2 separate regions of the Homo sapiens genome follow, and region 1 is linked to region 2. Evidence: promoter capture Hi-C in 16 types of primary human blood cells and fetal thymus (Javierre and others, 2016). All regions are on one chromosome and are shown on one strand. Each heading gives the region's core, a stretch centred on a gene start or on the middle of the fragment in contact. The rest is flanking DNA. Distances are from core to core; before and after follow the strand shown. Region 1 holds the start of PPP4R3A (protein phosphatase 4 regulatory subunit 3A). Region 2 holds the start of BTBD7 (BTB domain containing 7).

Region 1 (2,700 bases), core at 133-2,632, 1.8 Mb after region 2:
CACCTGTGGTCCCAGCTACTTGGGAGGCTGAGATGGGAGAATCGCTTCAGCCCAGGAGGTTGAAGCTGCAGTGAGCTGAGACTGAGCCACTGCACTTCAGGATGGGTGACAGAGAGACCCTGTCTCAAAAAAAATTTTTTTTCAATAAAATCTAAACGTAGATATTTCTGATGAAAATTTAGTATCCCAACAGAGACTTGCTGGAAGGACAAAATATATCACATTTTTAAGACATTGTACGTATATCTCATTAGTAATTTGATTATTGAAATAACTTTTGAAAATACCGCACTAAAACGTTAACACTAATTTCACCAGTTTCTTCGTACTTTTTGTGGCTACTGCAAAATTTAAAGTTATGTGTGTGGCTGCATTATATTCCGAGCGGACAAGCCCGACCTGGCAAGGCCTGGCAAATGGTAAAAGCCACCAAAATGGTGGCATATGAGCTGCATGATAGGAACGAGAATGATATTCCTTTGTGAAGATCAACAATACTTGACATCAAGTAGGTCTTCAAAACACAGGACTACCTAATGCTGAGAATTACTCCTCCCGATTACACAGTGTCGCATTTGTTTTTGTGAGCGCCTTAAGTTCCTTTTCCGACAAGAAAGGCTGGCAGACAGTTCTGATAGGGATGAAGGAATGGAGCACTTGGGGCTTGCCTAGGCTGTAAGGTGAAGTTTTAGAATTGTCACTTGGAACTCGGTCCCACGCCCAGAAATCGCAAACAGTCCCAAGTTTCCACACTGGCCACGCCAGTCCGCGACCCACGGCGGCTCCCAAGGCTGCGCCGACCTAGGCGCCCACACCCGCGACCTTCCCCGGAAGCGTTTCCATTTCATTCCCTCAAGTCCGCAAGGCGCCGGGTGGGTCCCGAGCGCCCGACTCAGCCATAAAGGCGGCCCCGGGAAAACGCTCTCGGAAGCGGGTAGGGGCCCAGGCCCACGCTGCCCGGCGTCCGCAGGCCAGGGGCAGGGGCAGAGGCAGGGACGGGGCAGGAACAAGGGAAGGTGGCGGCGGGCGGAGGCGAGGCCGAAGCGCCGGGGCCCGCGGGCAGAGGCCGCAAACGTATCCACGCCCCTCGTGCATCCTGGAGCGGGGCTGATGACGAACACAGGGCGCGACGGACGCACACACCGCCCAGCGCTCGCACGACGGTGCGTGCAAGGAGGCGGGAGGGAGCCTCGGGCTGTCACCGGCGCAATCTGCGTCCCGCCTCCTCCGCTCCCTGCGCTCCCGCCACCTCGGCAACTCCGCGCCCGCCTCCCGCCTCCGTCGGAAGCCTCCGCCGCAGTAAGGCTCCCGGTCTCGCTGCTGTCTCTTTAAATGGTGGGGCTACGAGCCGCCCCTGCAGCTGCTCCCTGGGTGGCCCCGCGCGCCGCTTTTGAGGGGCGAACCAAGATGGCGGCGGTTTTGGCTGTGTGAGGAAGACGGAAGAGACGGCGGCGGAGGGAAACCGACTTCCACTAGTCCGGGTCGCTTGGGCGGCCGGGGGCCCTCAGAGTCTCCCGGGCAGTGGTAGCAGTTGCAGCAGGATCAGGCGCCTGTCGGCTTCTGACGTTTAAAACAGGGGGAGCGGAAGGGAGCCACTGGCCGCGGTGGCAGGGCCAGGTATAAGGAAGGAAAATATGGCGGCGGCGGCGGCGGCCTGAGGAGGCGGCGGCGGCGCGGGAAGCTGCTTCGCGGAGATCATGGCGGAGGCGGGAGCAGGGCAGTGACGGGAGCCCCGAGTTCCTAGCGCTGCGGGGCGGGAGGCTACGAAGCGCTGCGCGGCCCCCTCGGGGCTGCCGGGCGCCGGGCTCGCCAGGCCTGGACAATAGCGCCGGGGAGCCGGAGGCGAGGAAAGGCGGCGGCCCAGAGCTCGGTCCCTGGAGCGGGCCATGCAGGCGGCGGCGCGGCCCCGCGGCGCCCAGCGGCGGCAGTGAGGCCGGGGAGCCCTCCGCTCGCGGGCGCCCTCACGCCTCGCCCCTCGCCTCTCCAGGGCCCCTTTCCTGGGCGTCTACTGGCGGGGCCCCCGCCCCGGTTCCCGGGCGGCACGATGACCGACACCCGGCGGCGGGTGAAGGTGTACACGCTCAACGAGGACCGGCAGTGGGACGACCGGGGCACCGGGCATGTGTCGTCTGGCTACGTGGAGCGGCTGAAGGGCATGTCCCTGCTTGTCAGGGCTGAGAGCGACGGTAAGTGAAGCCCCGCGCGGCGGGACCCTCGCAGCCCCCACGGCCCTGGGCCGCCTCCCTGGTTCTTGCGGGGCATGGCGCTCGCTCCACGAGAACAGAGGGACGGCTGGGGAGGGCGGCCACCTCGGGGGAGGACGGGCCCCAGGTACCCCAGTCTTGCGGGAGCTCCCCGGAGAGCGCTTGAAATGTTTCCTTTCTCTGAGTGCCTGGTGGCATTTTGGGTACGAGGAGAGCCAAGCGTGTTTGAGCTGTGCCGCCCTGGAGTGTGGAGAGGTCGAGGACCTGAGATAGGGAGTCCGGAGTGTGCTGTTCTTTTGCACTAGAGTGACCTTGAGAAAGACACTGATTAATCCGATCTGCTGCCTTAGTTCACCCATCTGTAAAGCAGGCATGAAACTTTGCTTGGAGCTAAGAAAGTTCTTGGACCTTTCACACTTTGAAGAACGTTTTGCTGTGCTTTTTTTGTTTTTCTTTTTAAACATCTTTTTGCTACATGTTTCTGATCGTGTTGAAG
Region 2 (2,700 bases), core at 27-2,526:
AAGAAAATGAAGTAATACAAATTGGAAAGAGCTATCCTTTTCAAGGAAGTAAGGTGATGAAGAATGAGGGTGAGGAAAATACAAATCTGAAGGAAGTCCAGAGGAAAACAACAATGATATTGTCTCCAACTGAATATGAAAAGCATAAAATAATGGAGGGTCAAGAGATGGTTAAAAACACATCACAAAATTCCAAATTGCTCTTATCCTTTGAAGCTTAGAGGTGGTTTCAGAACAACAACAACAAAAAACTGTGTGACACAAAACTTGTTAAACAATGGGTAGAGATTGAAAATGCAAATACAATACTTTCAAATAAATTCCCAGAGTTGCTAATGTCTATCAGAGGAAAAGGAGGTGTAACGGTGCCTCCTCACTGGGTTCAGAATGCCTGGGTTCTGATCTTGGCTTGCCTACTTGTTAGTATTTCTGAGCCTGTCTCCTTGGTTGTAAAACAGCAATAAAAACACCTATCCTGACTACCACAAAGGGTGGCTTTGGCGTTCAAATGAAACCATGGATCTCTCTGGAAAACGACAGTGCCCCATAAATACAGTATTTTTGTTATTGCATCGCTGAAATTATTGCAAACCCCCAAACAAGGGGCATCTAGGGAAGAGCGACTTGGCTCTCCCACGTGGCGACTGTGTGTTTTCATCAATTTTGTCCTTTGTTTACAGGGGTATCTTGTTAAGGAAAACTTTTCAGTGTCTTAAAGATTATTTTTTAACCTACTACACAAGTAGCAAGGTGGTGCCTGTAAAAGTACCATGCAGACAAGTGCTTACGATAGACAAGTGCTCACTGCCAAGAAGCAGCCACCGGAATGCCAGGACTGTCAGCAATGACTTTCCGCGGAAGAGTTGTTCTCGAGAAAGATGCACTCATTGCATGCGACCACCCGAGGGACGCCGGCCGCCGAACGGAAACATGAATTCGTGGAAATGGCCATCTGGTGACGTAGTAGTGACACAGTTCTTATATTCTGATACATTTAATAATGTGTCACAATTCGCTGGACTAAGCAGGATGCTGCCACAAGAGGCAAACTCCCAGCGACCCGACGCCCGGCTCCCAGCCGACGAGCAAAAATAATGCGCGCGCACTCCGCTCCCATGGATCCAGCGAACGCACCGCCCCCCCACGCGGCCCGACTCGCGCGGCGACGTCGGGCCACGTGACCCTGAGCGGGACGACGGCAGGGGAGGGCGGGGGCTCCGGCCGGCTCCGCAGCGCCGCGCAGGCGCCCCAGGGCCACGCCGAACCGAGCCCCTCCTGCTCCGTCTAGGAGTCAAAATGGCGGCGAGGGGAACCTGGAGCAGTCCCGGAGCCTGAGCCACTGACAGGAGAGGAGAGGGCGGCGGCGGCGGCGGTGGGAGGAGGATGGCCGGGGGTGCTGGCGCCGGTGCGGACGGCGGTGCTGGTGGCGGCGGCGGCGGAGGCGACGGCAGCGGTCCCAGCGGCAGCAGCAGCGGCGGGAGGAGCCTCCGGGGTGAGTGTCCCTTGGTGTCTCTGAGGCTGTGGAGCCGAGGCTGTGTCCGGTGTGGCGCGGGGCGTCCGGGAGAGGAAGGGGCTGTTCTTAGGCGTGGGGGCGCCGGGGCTGGGGCCAAGCCGCCGCGGGAGGCGCTGGGGCGCCGGGCGGGGAGGGGCCAGTCGTCCGTCTGGGGCTGAGGCGCGGCGGCGCCGGACTGGCCGGTCTCTGTGCGCTCCGAGGGGCGGGCTGGAGCGCGCCGCCGTCCCTGGGGCAGGGGCGCGAGGTGTGGCGCTCGGGGCGGGGAGAGCGGCCCGAGGGAGTCGCGACGGCAGCCCGGCCGGCTTTGGGCTCCGGGCGCCGAGGGGCGGGACCCGTCGCTCCCAGGACGCTGAGAAACCGCTCCCGAGACGGGGGCGCGTGTTTACCCGGGTGCGGGGTTGCGACCGCCAGGGGTGGGCGTGAGAGTGGCCGGCGGGGTCTGGGAAGGGAGCAGGCCTGAGGACTGCTACTCCCAGGGGAAGTTAGATTGTCCGGGTAAGTTACTATTGCGGGATAAACCTGGAATTGAGCTTTGACAGGTTGGGAGGGAGACAATACCGAGTGTTTGATAAAGAAGAGGAGGCTGTGCTTGTTGGACTACTTGAATGGCAAAAAGTGTGCATATTTCAGTACCTTATTTGCACAGTGTTTGCTAGCTTTACCCCGAGGGTGAGAACTTTCTCACCGTTTTTCAAGAAACTCTGAGGAGTGTTGTTTCTCCTGTGAACTACAATTGCACGTCTTCACATACCAGCACAGATAATAAGTACTCTGGAGTAGGCCTAATTTACAGAAGCAGTCTTGGTTATCTACACCAGAGCACTGTTAACTCTGCGAAAACATCTTACTGTAATGAGAAAGTAGACATTTTTACAGAATTACTTAGCTTTTTCAACTAACAACCTTTTTGGGGGGGGGGAGACGGAGTCTCGCTCTGTCACCCAGGCTGGAGAACAGTGGTGCGATCTCGACTCACTGCAACCTCCGCCTCTCAGGTTCAAGCGATTCTCCTGTCTCAGCCTCCCAAGTAGCTGGGATTACAGGCGCCCGCTGCCACGCCCGGCTAGTTTTTGTATTTTTAATAGAGACGTGGTTTCACCATGTTGGCCAGACTGGTCTCGAGCTCCTGACCTCTGGTGATCCGCCCGCCTCGTCCTTCCGAACTACTGGGATTGCAGGCGTGAGCC

Evidence for each region. Contacts are between HindIII fragments. The CHiCAGO score rates a contact against its expected background, and 5 or more counts as called.
Region 1: a contact is called between the fragment with the promoter of PPP4R3A here and the fragment with the promoter of BTBD7 in region 2, in 1 of 17 cell types (fetal thymus). The highest score is 6.1, in fetal thymus.

Annotation. Positions count from the first base shown.
Region 1 is chr14:91,508,992-91,511,691 of GRCh38, reverse strand. PPP4R3A (protein phosphatase 4 regulatory subunit 3A) reads left to right here and starts at 1,382. Exons shown (of 15, transcript NM_001366432.2): 1 at 1,382-2,186. The coding sequence starts at 2,045. RefSeq lists silencers at 1,123-1,322, 1,903-2,002, 2,013-2,072, 2,323-2,372 and enhancers at 1,383-1,662, 1,480-2,130, 2,131-2,700. The HindIII fragment of the contact is 5,922 bases long and covers 1-2,700 here.
Region 2 is chr14:93,331,612-93,334,311 of GRCh38, reverse strand. It overlaps BTBD7 (BTB domain containing 7), which reads left to right and starts at 1,276. Exons shown (of 11, transcript NM_001002860.4): 1 at 1,276-1,492. It also overlaps a transcript of UNC79 not described here. The HindIII fragment of the contact is 5,146 bases long and covers 219-2,700 here.